Linked DNA regions of Homo sapiens: all the other regions are linked to region 2. The links are contacts of gene promoters, found by promoter capture Hi-C in blood cells and fetal thymus (Javierre and others, 2016). All regions are on one chromosome and are shown on one strand. Each heading gives the region's core, a stretch centred on a gene start or on the middle of the fragment in contact. The rest is flanking DNA. Distances are from core to core; before and after follow the strand shown. Region 1 overlaps LRRK1 (leucine rich repeat kinase 1). Region 2 holds the start of CHSY1 (chondroitin sulfate synthase 1). Region 3 overlaps LRRK1 (leucine rich repeat kinase 1).

Region 1 (4,331 bases), core at 421-2,920, 260 kb after region 2:
AGATGGTTTGCACGGTCAGGGTTGACTCAGGGTAGTGGGGAAACCCACCTGACTTGATGGCCGCATACAGGGGCAAGCGCACGATGACAGGGAACTCATTCTTCCTGACAGCGTAGCTCTCCGGGTCAGCCCCGTGCGTCAGGACCAGGAGCTTCACAACCCCCAGGTGCCCTCGCTGGCAAGCCAAGGCCAGCATCCAGTTCAGAAGCCGCTGGGGACTGCAGGGACCTGGCAGGAGATGGCAGGACAAAGGGAAAGTGCCACTGAAGGGTGCTGTTTGTTCCCACTCTGCTCTTCCCTTAGACCGCTAGTAGCAATGGACTGGTTAAATAAAATGTGGTACATTTGCACCATGGAATACTATACAGCCATAAAAAAGAATGAGATCATGTACTTTGCAGCATCATGGATGGAGCTGGAGGTCATTATCCTAAGTGAACTAACGCAACAACAGAAAACCAAATACTGCATGTTATCACTTATAAGGGGGAGCTAAACATTGAATGCACGTGGACACAAAGAAGGGAACAATAGACACTGGGGACTACTTGATGGTGGAGGGAGGGAAAAGGGGGAAGGTTAAAAAATTACCTATTGAGTCCCATGCTTATTACCCAGGTGACGAAATAATCTGCATACCGAACCCCGGCAACATGCAGTTTACCCACGTAACAAACCTGCATATGTACCCCTGAACCTAAAGTAAAAGTTAAACAAAACAAAACAAAACCCAGCTGTCCTGTTTCCAGCTGAAAGTTGCTTCTGTTGAGTTGATAGTGTTTTCTGGAATAGTCTCTCTGAATTGCATATGACATTTCCCCACATCAGTCACCCACCTGCTTGTCAGATAATGCCGAGTGATGAAATGGAGGATTAAAAATGGCGTATCCAGCATGATCTTAGCCAAATAAAAAATGGGTGTGTGGAAATAAGACTAGAAACAACTACCCCAGCATTGTGGTATTTTCTCTGGGCTCTCCCCTGCCCTCACCCCTCCCCTAGGGTAACATTACATGCAGGAGTATGAACTTTGGAGACAGGCATTTTAGAAATAAAATAATTTAGTATGTAATTTTGGACACATTTCTTAATCTCTCTCTGTTTCAGTTTGCCTGTTGGTAAAATCGGAATAATAATACTCATTCTTCCAAGTTTAATGTGAGGACTACATCACAAAATGCATGTCAAGTGCCTGGATCAATAAACCCTAACTCATGATGTTGTGTCATTGTATTATTAAAGTACTGACACTTTCCCACATTTTAAAATTATCTATAATATACATATATTACTTTCATGAATAATAATAATAAAAGCTTTGGTGAAAGATCTGTCAGGCCTAAAAGTGACAATTTCTCCCCAGTAGAACCACCTACTTAATTCCAGGATGAAATAACACTTAGCACATTGAATTGACGGGGGCAGTGTGGGCTGAAATGTTACAATATCTTCAAGTTCAAAATAGTGCAATATCTTTTGGGTCTAGTTGCCATGGAAAAATGACCTCATCTTCTGCAGGGACACTTCCCAAATGCATCATAACACTGCCTCATTTCCAGAGGCACATAGTCCTAGGGATCAAAGTGCTCCCAAGTGAGGAGAGAGTGACTCTCTCCTTCGCGACAGGACATTGATCAGGAAACCGGGGTCAGGATGGCCCTGTATTCACCAAATAAAGCATGTAGCATAGGGCTGAGGCTGGAGCCAGTGCCAAGTAAATATCCCTTCTTCTCCCTCTACTGTTAACCAGAATTAATGATTTGTAGGTATGTTAACAGAAAATAAGTGACCCCTAATCCACTTACACAAGAATATCTGGGTAAGAGAAACACAGTAACCATGCTAGTAACTTCTGTTGAGATGGGGATGTGTCAGTCTTTGGAGGCAGGCATTATATTTCAGGACCATGATTTTAAGATGAGGAAACCAAAGCTCAGAGAGGTTTGGAAATGTAGGAGATTGGTCAGAGTCGTAGGAAAAACTACAGGGAAAGGACACAAACCTTCTGAAAGTTTGGAAGCTTCTGCAGAGCCCTGGGGGAGAACAGCTGAAGGCAGAGGGCAAGGAGTGTAGGGGAATGTATCTTAAACAGGCTTGTTTACTTATGTTGACCAGGAACTGACCTTTGATCATCTGCTGGCTTGATGTTCCCTGAAAGGGGAACAATAAATGTTAATTACCTACAGGTTGTGTTGGCTCCAGGTTTTCGGCATTGTGCCTGCACTGAATGAAAGCAAGCAGCTCTAGCTTCTTCGGGCTGCTCTCTGGCCAACAGAGCCAGGCAGTGACTCAGCTGCTCTTACACCGTACACCTGTGTCTGAGTACTCATTTCATCCATCAGCCAGGGTCTGTGGGACACACCTGGCAGGGAAACTTCTTGAAGGTCCCACAGTTAGTAAATAGCAAGGTCAAGACTTAAACCTTGCTTTGTCTAAAATCAAAGGGTGCTCTCTTAACCACACAAAACCCCTACAGGTACTCTCTACAGCCTAAGGCCAACGACACTCAGAGGAGCCCCTCTTCCTCCCTGCTCAGCTTCAGAGACCAGGAATCACATAACAACGTGCTTCAAAGAATGCATCCCATCAACCTCTCATCCCTCTTCTTCTCAAACCCTCCTTTGTTCTCTAGCTGCTTCTTGTTTTTGTTTTTTGTTTGAGACAGGGTCTCCTTCTATCTCAGCCTGGAGTGCAGTAATGTGATCATAGCTGACTGCAGCCTTGGACTCCTGGGCTTAAGCCATTCTCCCACTTCACCCTCCCAAGTACCTGGGAATATAGGCATGTGCCACCATGCCTGGTTAATTTAAATTTTTTTTTTTTTTTGTAGATACAGGGTCTCACTATGTTACCCAGGCTGGTCATGAAATCCTGGGCTCAAGTGATCCTCTTGCCTTGGCCTCCCAAATTGTTGGGATTACAGGCATGAGCCAGCATGTCCAGCCTGACTCTTGTTTGTCTTCTTGTCTTGACTTACTCCTGACCATGGCTGACTTCCCTTCCAGCTTGGGAACTCCTTTGCAGGAAGTGCAGGGATGGGTACACACTGTTTTGCCCATCTCTGCACTTTCTGCAAAGCCCACCACAATGGTCTGAAATCCTTCAGTCCTCAGCAGCTTTGCTCAGAGTTGAGCTGAAGATACGATGCTCCTGGGAGCAGTTGAAAACCATGACGAGGTTCAGCCACACTTCCTGCTCTGCAAAAGCAGGCAACCCAAGTCCTTCCTTCACTTGTCTGCCAAGTAAACTCCTATTCACTCTGCAAAGCCCAGGTCAGATGTCAGCCTCCCTTCGGAGACCCTACCCTGCCCCCTGATGTGTGCTCCCAGACCTCTGCGTAAAAATACTTCAACCTCAGTGTAGTTACATTGCACAGTGTTACTCCTTTCTGCCTCAATTTCCCCTGCTTGGCCAGGAGGTACTAAATGGCTGGGAAAATCTTTAAAAAAATTATCTGTCTCTCACGTTCTACACAGTTTTCAGCACTTGACAGTATTCAATAAATATTAGCTAACATTAGGTGACGGAGTCAGCTGGTGCAGACTCTTCAGGGCTAGAACAGAGCTAATCTTGGGGCTCCCCGAGAAGAGGCAGGTCAGCCTTTGGCTCCTCAGGAGCACCCAAGCTCCTCTCTGCCCTCCTATGTCTTGTCTTAGTATGCTTCTCATGGGCCCTAAAATTGCCCTGATTTCTGCCCATAACCTCATTCTGTTCAGACACATGAGGGGAACACTAGCTTGGAACCAACGCTGAGCACAGATCTATCAAAGCCCACAGCTGGAAACCCTCAAACAAGACCACTATATAAGGGGTGAGGCCCAATGCAAAATGAAAAGAATGGGGCTTCTTGTTTAAAAATCATGAAACATTTTAAGATAGTGAGTACAGAGTATTAAACGTAACGTGGGCCCTTCTAGGTGCAGGGCCCTGGGTGACTGCATGTTCTCCCACCCAAGAGGTGGGCCCTGGCTCCCAAGCAAAATCTCAAATCCCAAAGACCATGGCTAGGGTGTGCCTCACCCTATAGCTGTAGCGATGCCTGCCTAGACTGGTGCAGTGTTTCTGAGCCAAGACCACCACGGGAAATTACAGGAGACCAGGACATCTTGAGTTCACCAGAGAAAAAAATAGTTCCTACAAAAGCAACATAGTGTGGTACACCAATACAATGGAATATTATTCAGCCATTAAAAGAAATGAGCTATCAAGTCACAAAAAGGCATGGAGAAACCTTAAATGCATATCGCTATGGGAAAGAAGTGAGTTTGAAACGGCTACAGACTGTGGGATTCCAACTAGAGCGATGTTCTGGAAAAGGCAAAGATAGTAAA
Region 2 (4,607 bases), core at 649-3,148:
AACTAGGAACCAGGATATTGAGGAGGACAAAATATTTGGCATCCTCAGAATATTATTCCCATCAGATATTTATATACTTTTTTTTTTTTTTTCCTTGAGACGGAGTTTCGCTGTTGTCGCCCAGGCTGCAGTGCAATGCAATGGCACGATCTCGGCTCACAGCAACCTCCACCTCCCGGGTTCAAGCGATTCTCCTGCCTCAGCCTCCCGAGTAGCTGGGATTACAGGCATGCACCACCACCCCCGGCTAATTTTGTATTTTTAGTAGAGTCGGGGTTTCTCCATGTTGGTCAGGTTGGTCTCGAACTCCTGACCTCAGGCGATCCGCCCGCCTCAGCCTCCCAGAGTGCTGGGTTTACAGGCGTGAGCCACCGCGCCCGGCCAGCTTTTCACTGGACACTAGTTTCGAAGAAAACTAGGTAAGTCTAAAGCAGGTTAGAAAATACTGAAATCGTTGAATATGCTACAAAATTGAACATCTGAATCTGGCCAGATTCGTACTTCATGTAAATCACTGTGAATGATGGGGCTGCTGAATTTGGGGGATCTGGTGACTCCTCGGCATTTGTGGTTTATGGTCTTAGTGGAAACCTTTTTCGATGGTTTTCGAGCCTGTAATTCATGGTTGTATGTTCTGTATTTTTCCCAAGACCACTGCTGGAATCCTGTATTCACTGCATAATGAGTATTTTATTTTTAGATGTGGATCACCCCTTAGGGAGGGGCTCTGTGGGAAGGTAGGTAATGAACTATTTTTAATATAAATCACAAGTGTCAAAGAAAGTGGTAATATCCAAAGAATAAACAAGAGTGACCACCATTCAGGTGCCGAGAAGGTATCTGAAGCTCCCACAGGCATTTTAAACTGTGTGATAGTATTTCAACCATTTGGTCAACAATGAAGAAAGATCCAAGGATTGCCCCAGGCATGTGTTTATTTGATTCAATGCAGGTAACTTCTCAGGCCCAGGGAAACACTTTGCCCTTCAAAAGTTTCATTAGAAAACCCCAATATACTGGTGACTAAGTAACAAGACTGAAACTCTACACAAACTTTCGTTGTATGGAGACCTCCGCTTTTGCTGCCTTAGCTGAAGTATTGCAGAGGAAATGTATAAAACTTAAAATCCAGAGTAGAGGATCTGGGACCCAAAATCCGTCTTTAGAAATCCACGGCACTTTTACAGACGGACTATATTAAAGTAGGGACAAAGTCCCAGGCTGGGGGTACTAGCCGGCTATCTGCCCACACAGTATGTAAATGAAAGTAGGGTTTACCATCCAGGGCATTAACTTCATTTTCCTTGTCTTCGAGATCCATTAAATGCTAGTACTGTATGAGAAGCGTGGACCTTAAGTATTAAAGATGGCTTTTTCTTCTTCTTCTTCTTATTTAGCGTAGAAACTAGCAACAGGGAACAAGGTAACTGAATTCACGGTCCACTCGCAGGCGCGCACGTCCCCAGGGCTCCGGGACGGCTGTTCCCTGCGTGCGGCCGCGGGACTGCGGACAAAGCTGCAGTGTGGTCGGGAGCGCGGGGCCGGGAGCGCGGGGCCGGCCCGGCGGCAGGAAGGGCGTGGCCGTGGGGTGCAGCGAGGACGGCCCGTGCGGGAGGAACGTGCGCAGCGTGGAGTCTGGGGGCCGAGAAGCCCCCACTGCAAGGCTGGCTCCCGAGATTCGCGCCCGGGCGCCGCGGTGCGGGAAGCGGCCGTCCTCGCGGGGACGCCCTTGCGCCGGGTGCTAGGTGCGGATCACGGGCAGCTCCGGCCCCGCGGGCGCCGGGCGGGGGCCCACGCCCCCTCCGCCCGCCAGCTCCAGTCGCAGACCGCGCGGGCGGGGCGCCCGAGAGGGCTTTTTTTTTTTTTGGTCAAACTTCGGCCACGTGAACCGCCCCTCATTCACTTTTGCGCCAATCGCGCGGCGCGGACGGATCCCGAGAGGGGCCACGGCTCGCCGCCGGCGGGGCCACTTCATAACGCGCCGTGCGTGACGTGAGGGGCTCCTGTTGCAATGGCGAGCTAAGCCGGAGGATGTGCAGCTGCGGCGGCGGCGCCGGCTACGAAGAGGACGGGGACAGGCGCCGTGCGAACCGAGCCCAGCCAGCCGGAGGACGCGGGCAGGGCGGGACGGGAGCCCGGACTCGTCTGCCGCCGCCGTCGTCGCCGTCGTGCCGGCCCCGCGTCCCCGCGCGCGAGCGGGAGGAGCCGCCGCCACCTCGCGCCCGAGCCGCCGCTAGCGCGCGCCGGGCATGGTCCCCTCTTAAAGGCGCAGGCCGCGGCGGCGGGGGCGGGCGTGCGGAACAAAGCGCCGGCGCGGGGCCTGCGGGCGGCTCGGGGGCCGCGATGGGCGCGGCGGGCCCGCGGCGGCGGCGGCGCTGCCCGGGCCGGGCCTCGCGGCGCTAGGGCGGGCTGGCCTCCGCGGGCGGGGGCAGCGGGCTGAGGGCGCGCGGAGCCTGCGGCGGCGGCCCGGCGGGCGGAGCGGCGCGGGCATGGCCGCGCGCGGCCGGCGCGCCTGGCTCAGCGTGCTGCTCGGGCTCGTCCTGGGCTTCGTGCTGGCCTCGCGGCTCGTCCTGCCCCGGGCTTCCGAGCTGAAGCGAGCGGGCCCACGGCGCCGCGCCAGCCCCGAGGGCTGCCGGTCCGGGCAGGCGGCGGCTTCCCAGGCCGGCGGGGCGCGCGGCGATGCGCGCGGGGCGCAGCTCTGGCCGCCCGGCTCGGACCCAGATGGCGGCCCGCGCGACAGGAACTTTCTCTTCGTGGGAGTCATGACCGCCCAGAAATACCTGCAGACTCGGGCCGTGGCCGCCTACAGGTGAGCCCCTGCTCCCCGGGCACCGCCTCCTGCGTCCGGCATCCCGGCGGCCGGCATCCCGGGTGCTCTCCTGGCTCTCGCCTCCGCCCGCTTCCTAGGCCCTTCTTGGGCTTCCGGCGGGATCGGGTTGCCTCTCGGGAGACGCCGGGCCGAGGGAGAAAAGATCAGAGGCGGGATGGTGAGCGCGGCGCTCAGGAACATGGCCTTTGGGGTCAGATGGACTAGTGTGGCCTCGCTGGGTGTACCTCTCACCCTGATGAAGGCACTTTAGCCTTTGCAAATCGAAGCTTCTCGTTAGAAGGGCCCGACAGATCGGGTCTCCCTCATAATGTTGGAAAACTCATAGCACAGTACCTGATAGTGGAGGCAGTTGGGGCTGATACTGGATTCCCTAAAATGTGCACCTTTGTCCTTGCAAAGCTGGAGCCCGTGTACGTTAATCTAGTTCTAGAACCTTTCCACATCATACTCTCACATTTCGCAGTTGGAGGCACTCCTATAAATGAAAGAGAATGCCCGCAGCATATTGGACCACACCAGTCTGTTGAGTACAGAGAGAGAGAACCTTGGGGAAAAGCAGTTCTTGGCCCTTGGTAGATTCAGTGGAAAACTGCATTCTGGTGTTAATTAGTTCAGCTTGGTGGTGTATGCATGTTATCCAGTAACTGGGCTCTAGTTGGCCAAATGAGTCATAAAAGCAGCTGGAATTGTGTTCAGGTTTAACAAAGGGATTAGCCAATGTAGTCTCTAGAAGGGAGATGATTTTGGAATGGCTGGCATGGTTAGAATCAGATTTGTATTGGAGTGAATTTGAAGTTGGAGAGGGTTGTAGACTCGATAAAGGGATTTGATGGAAACCCTATATGTGTGAAGTATAGAGACACTTACTGTATGGATAAAGTTTGGGTCTTATCCAGCCACAGAGCAAACCAATGTGGGGAATGGTTTTAGAGCATCAGTTGTCTGGTAATGAAATTTCAGAGCAGCCAGTGCTGAGCCAGGCTAAGCTGGTTGCTGTTTGTTCTTATAACCAATACCTTTACACTTCAGTTTTTAAATGCAGTCTTGGTCAGATTTTTCAGGCACTAGATGTTGTGAGGGGAAAAGCATATATGGTCTCCCTTGCCTTTAAGGGAGAAAGTAAAGGACTGAGAAAGAAGGTGAAAGTGGTCTTCAGTGACTGCCCCTTGAATGGCTTGATCCCCATTCCTGCACATTTCCATTAGGGTCCTGCTTAAGTCCAGAACCCACATTCCGCCAGGAAGGGTCCTGAGTGGCTTGAAAAGCTTAGAATGCAGGTATTGTAAATACAGACTAATGCAGGCGGGGCGCCGTGGCTCACGCCTGTAATTCTAGCACTTTGGGAGGCCGAGGCGGGCGGATCGCCTGAGGTCAGGAGTTCGACACCAGCCTGACCAATATGGTGAAACCCCGTCTCTACTCAAGAGTACAAAAATTAGCCGGGTGTGGTGGCGTGCACCTGTAGTCCCAGCCACTCAGGAGGCTGAGGCAGGAGAATCGCTTGAACCCAGGAGGCGGAGGTTGCAATGAGCCAAGATCATGCCACTGCACTCCAGCCTGGGCTACAGAGTGAGACTCCATCTCAAAAAAAAAAAAAAAAAAAAATTCTATCTATCGATCGATAGATAGAGATACATAGACTAGTGCAGTGATTTGGGAACCAGCCTATCAGGATCTCTCCCAGATCTACCTTGCATTACCTGAGGTTTTATGGGATTTTTTTTTTTTTTTTGACCAGAGAAACAGCCGTATCGGAAATCGAGGATGAGCCATATAG
Region 3 (4,587 bases), core at 186-2,685, 280 kb after region 2:
AAACGACTTTAAAACTAGCTTTACCCACAACTGTCACTCACCCATCATAACTTGCCAACTCTCCAAAACCTTGCTAATACTAATAAGTTTTCTTGAAAAACACACATAACATTTCTCCTTTTTATTACAAAACTGCCAACCTTCTCTTTATTCTTCAAACATACCAAAACACACACACACACACACACACACACACACACACACACACTCTCTCTCTCTCTCTCTCTCTCTCTCTCATATATATATATATATATCCCAAATTACAATTCTTATATCCCAAGAAAACATTAGATTTTAAAATCCTTTTGAGGCTGGGTGTGGTGGCTTATGCCTGTAATCCCAGCACTTTGGGAGTCCGAGGCAGGCAGATTACTTGAGGTCAGGAGTTCGAGACCAGCCTGGCCAACATGGTGAAACCCCGTCTCTACTGAAGACACAAAAATTAGCCGGGTGTGGTGGCACGCGCCTGTAATCCCAGCTACTCAGGTGGCTGAGGCACGAGGATCACTTGAACCCAGGAGCCTGAGGTAGCAGTGAGCTGAGATCGCACCACTGCACTCCAGCCTGGGTGACAGAGCGAAACTCTGTCTAAAAAAAAAAAAAATTCTTTTGTCATTTGCAACAGCCAGGGATGGAACTGGAGGTCATTATCTTGAGTGAAATAAGCAGGCACAAAAAGACAAACATTCCATGTTCTCACTTATTTGTGGGAGCTAAAAATTTGATCCCATGGAGGCAAAGACTGGAAAAATGGGAAAAACAGCTAACAGAGACTGAGAAGGGTGAGTGTCGGAGCAGGGAGGACGAACAGAAGTGGGTTAAAGGGTACAAGCATACAGTAAGAAGGAATAAATTCAATGTTTGATAGCAGAGTAGGGTGACTATAGTTAACAAAAATGTACTGTATTCAGGTGATGGACACCCTAAATGCCCTGACTGGATCACCACATACTATATACACATAACAAAATGTCACATACACCCCACAAATGTGTACAAATAAAAAATAAAAATAAAAATTCACCTCTACATTTTTATTTTGACTTCAACACTATCATCCTTGGCCAAGTTCACGCAGCCAGTAGAGGCAAACTGGGACAGAAGTTTGGTCTCCCAGCTCTCAAGCTAAACCCAACCCATCTTTGTGCTGCCTCTCTGAAAGGATGAATAAGACAGGCTTTGGATTGATTTTCTTCTTCTTTTTTCTTTTTCTTTTTCTTTTCTTTTTTTTTTTTTTTGAGACACAGTTTCACTCTGCTTCCAAGGCTGGTGTGCAGTGGCGCGATCTCGGCTCACTGCAATCTCCACCTCCCGGGTTCAAGTGATTCTCATGCCTCAACCTCCTGAGTAGCTGGGATTACAGGTGCACGCCACCAAGTCCAGCTAATTTTTGTATTTTTAGTAGAGATGGGGTTTCACCATGTTGGCCAGGCTGGTCTCAAACTCTCGACCTCAAGTGATCCACCCACCTCAGCCTCACAGAGTGCTGGGATTACAGGCGTGAGCCGCTGCGCCTGGCCTTGTTTTTCTTTTTAAATGTAAATGCATAGCACGGTTGGCTCACAAACATACACCTCACAAAAATGAATCACATAATAGCAGTTAACATTGAAAAATTGAAAAAATAGTTTATGATAGTATAAAATTACATTCTTAGAAAAAAATGTAACAAAAGATGGGCAAGATCTGTACGCTGAAAACATAAAACATTGCTGAGAGAAATTGAACAAGACCTAAATAAGTGGGAAGACATCCATCTTCAAGGATTGGAAGAATCAGTACTGTTAAGATGTTAATTCTCTTTGATTTTATCTATAGATTCAATAATCCCAACTATGATTCCAATAGGGTCATTTTTGCGGGATAGAAATTGACAGTCTGATTCTTAAATTTATATGGAAATTTGAAAGACCTAGAATAGCCAAAGCAATCTTGAAAAAGAAGAGAGTTGGAGAATGTACACTACCTGATTTCAAGACTTGGAAAGGATGGAGTTGGAAGCCATTATCCTTCCAAAAAACAAACTACAAAGCTATAGTAATCAAGACAGTATGGTACTGGTATAGACAAATGGCTCCAAGGGACAGAACAGAGGGTTGAAAAATAGACCTGTGCTTGTACATTCAATTGATTTTTGACAAGGGAGCCAAAGCAGTACAATGGGAAAAGCAAAGTCTTTTCAGTAAAAAGTGCTGGAACAACTGGACACCCTCATTTAATAAAAAGCAGCCCTGACCCCTACTTCTCACCATATACAAATATCATCTTGAGATGGCACACACATGTTCATTACAGCACTATTTACAATAGCAAAGTCATGGAATCAACCCAAATGCCCATCAGTGATGGACCGGATAAAGAAAATGTGGTGGCTGGGTGCGGTGGCTCATGCGGTGGCCCATGCCTATAATCCCAGCACTTTGGGAGGCCAAGGCAGGTGGATCACCTGAGGCCAGGAGTACGAGACCAGCCAGGCCAACATGGTGAAACCCCGTCTCTACTAAAAATACAAAAAATTAGCCCAGCGTGGTGGTGGGCACCTGTAATCTCAGCTATTATGAAGGCTGAGGCAGGAGAATCGCTTGAACCTGGGAGGCAGAGGTTGCAGTGAGCTGAGGTAGCACCACTGCACTTCAGCCTAGTCAACAAGAGCAAAACTCTGTCTCAAAAAAAAAAGAAGAAAAAAGCAGAGAAAATATGATACATATATACACCATAGAATACTATGCAGCCATAAAAAGGAATAAGATTATCACTTTGCAGGGACATGGATGGAGTTGGAAGCCATTATCCTCAGCAAGCTAACACAGGAACAGAAAACCAAATACCACATGTTCTCACTTATAAGTGGGAGCTGACCAATGAGAATACATGGAAACAAGAGGGGAACAACACACACTGGGCACCTGTGGTGAGGGAGGGTGGGGAAAGAGCATAAGGAAGAATAGCTAATGGATGCTGGGCTTAATACCTGGCTGATGGGATGATCTGTGCAGTAAATCCCCATGGCACATGTTTACCTATGTAACAAACAAGCACATCCTGCTCATGTACCCCTGAACTTGAAAAAAAAACTTGAAAAAAAAGAAAAAATAACTGAGATGAATCATGGACCTAAACATAAAGGCTAAAACTATGAAGCTTCTAGGAAAACATAGCGGAGATTATCTTCATGACTTGAGAGTAAGTCTTTACTTACTTTCTTACATGGGACACAGAAAACAATAACCAGGAAAGGAAAAATTGCTAAATTAGGCTTCATCAAAATTTAAAACTTCTGCCCCTCAAAAGACCCCATTTAAAGTTAAATAGGCAAATTATAGACTACAATAACGTATTTTCAAAACATATCTGAAAATAAATGGTATCTAGAATATAAAAACTCGTATAACTCCATAATAAAAAGACAAACAATCCAATTGAAAATGAGCAGGCTGGACCTGGTGGCTCACACCTGTAATCCCAGCAATTTGGAAGGCCAAGGTGGGTGTATCCATTGAGCCTAGGAGTTTGAGACCAGTCTGGGAAACAAGTAGACCCTGTCTCTACAAAACATTTTAAAAATTAGCCGGGCATGGTGGTGCACACCTGTAGTCCCAGCTACTCAGGAAGCTGAGATGTAGGAGGATGGCTTGAGCCCAGGAGGTCAAGGCTTCAATGAGCTGTGACTACACCACTGCACTCCACTGGCCTGGGTGACAGAACAAGACCCTGTCTCAAAAAAACAAAACAGAAGGAAGGGAAGGGAAAGGAAGGGAAGGGGAAGGGGAAGGGGAAGGGGAAGGAAAGGGGAAGGAAAGGGGAAGGGAAGGAAGGAAAGAAAGAAAGGAAAAGGGAAGGGAAGGGAAGGGAGGAAGGAAGGAAGGAAGGAAGGAAGGAAAGAAAGAAAGAAAGAAAGAAAAAGAAAGAAAGAAAGAAAAAGAAAAGGAAGAAAGAAAGAGAGAGGGCAAAGATTTAAACAGCAAAAAAATATTCAAAAAGCTCAATGTCATTAGTCATCAGGGAAATGCAAATTAAAACCACAATGAGATACCACTATGCTCTCACCAGAATGGCTAAAACTGTAAGGCCAACACTACTTGGTGAGGACATGGAGCAACCAGAATGTTCATACCTTACTGGCTAGAGTGCAAAATGGTCCAATCACTTTGGAAACAGGTCTGGTGGTTTCTTATAAAACTACATGTATACCTACCCTGTGACCCATAAATTCCATTCTTATCTAACCAAGAGAAATATGTCCAGAAATGTATCCAACAATATTCACAGCAGCCTTATTCATATTTCCAAACTGTAAATAGCCCAAGTGTCCATCCACAGGAGAATGAATAAACAAACCGTGGTACAGTAACTACTCAACAATAAAAAGGAAGGACCGATTGATCTATGGAAAGACTGATAGCAATCTCAAAAAAAATAATGCTGAGTGAAAGAAACCTTGTACAAAAATGATTCCATTTATATGCTGTTCTAAGATATAGTGAAAAAAAATCAGAAGGGTGGATCGTGGCCATATGGTAGACAGTGAGTTTTCCTGTGGATGGGGCACAAGGACATCAGTTTGGTGGTTCTATATCTCACTGGAGT

The links. Contacts are between HindIII fragments. The CHiCAGO score rates a contact against its expected background, and 5 or more counts as called.
Region 1: a fragment that was not itself captured here is called in contact with the fragment with the promoter of CHSY1 in region 2 in 3 of 17 cell types (M0 macrophages, M2 macrophages and endothelial precursors); the score reaches 7.5 in M0 macrophages.
Region 3: a fragment that was not itself captured here is called in contact with the fragment with the promoter of CHSY1 in region 2 in 3 of 17 cell types (M2 macrophages, M0 macrophages and endothelial precursors); the score reaches 6.4 in M2 macrophages.

The regions. Positions count from the first base shown.
Region 1 is chr15:100,984,531-100,988,861 of GRCh38, reverse strand. LRRK1 (leucine rich repeat kinase 1) reads right to left here. Exons shown (of 34, transcript NM_024652.6): 5 at 49-228. Among named protein-coding and RNA genes, the nearest start is that of LRRK1, 67 kb to the right of the region's middle. The HindIII fragment of the contact is 704 bases long and covers 1,319-2,022 here.
Region 2 is chr15:101,249,339-101,253,945 of GRCh38, reverse strand. CHSY1 (chondroitin sulfate synthase 1) reads left to right here and starts at 1,898. Exons shown (of 3, transcript NM_014918.5): 1 at 1,898-2,809. The coding sequence starts at 2,490. RefSeq lists silencers at 1,434-1,813, 1,984-2,293, 2,484-2,913. The HindIII fragment of the contact is 7,881 bases long and covers 1-3,098 here.
Region 3 is chr15:100,967,985-100,972,571 of GRCh38, reverse strand. All of the region lies in intron 2 of LRRK1 (leucine rich repeat kinase 1), which reads right to left. Among named protein-coding and RNA genes, the nearest start is that of LRRK1, 51 kb to the right of the region's middle. The HindIII fragment of the contact is 3,416 bases long and covers 1-3,143 here.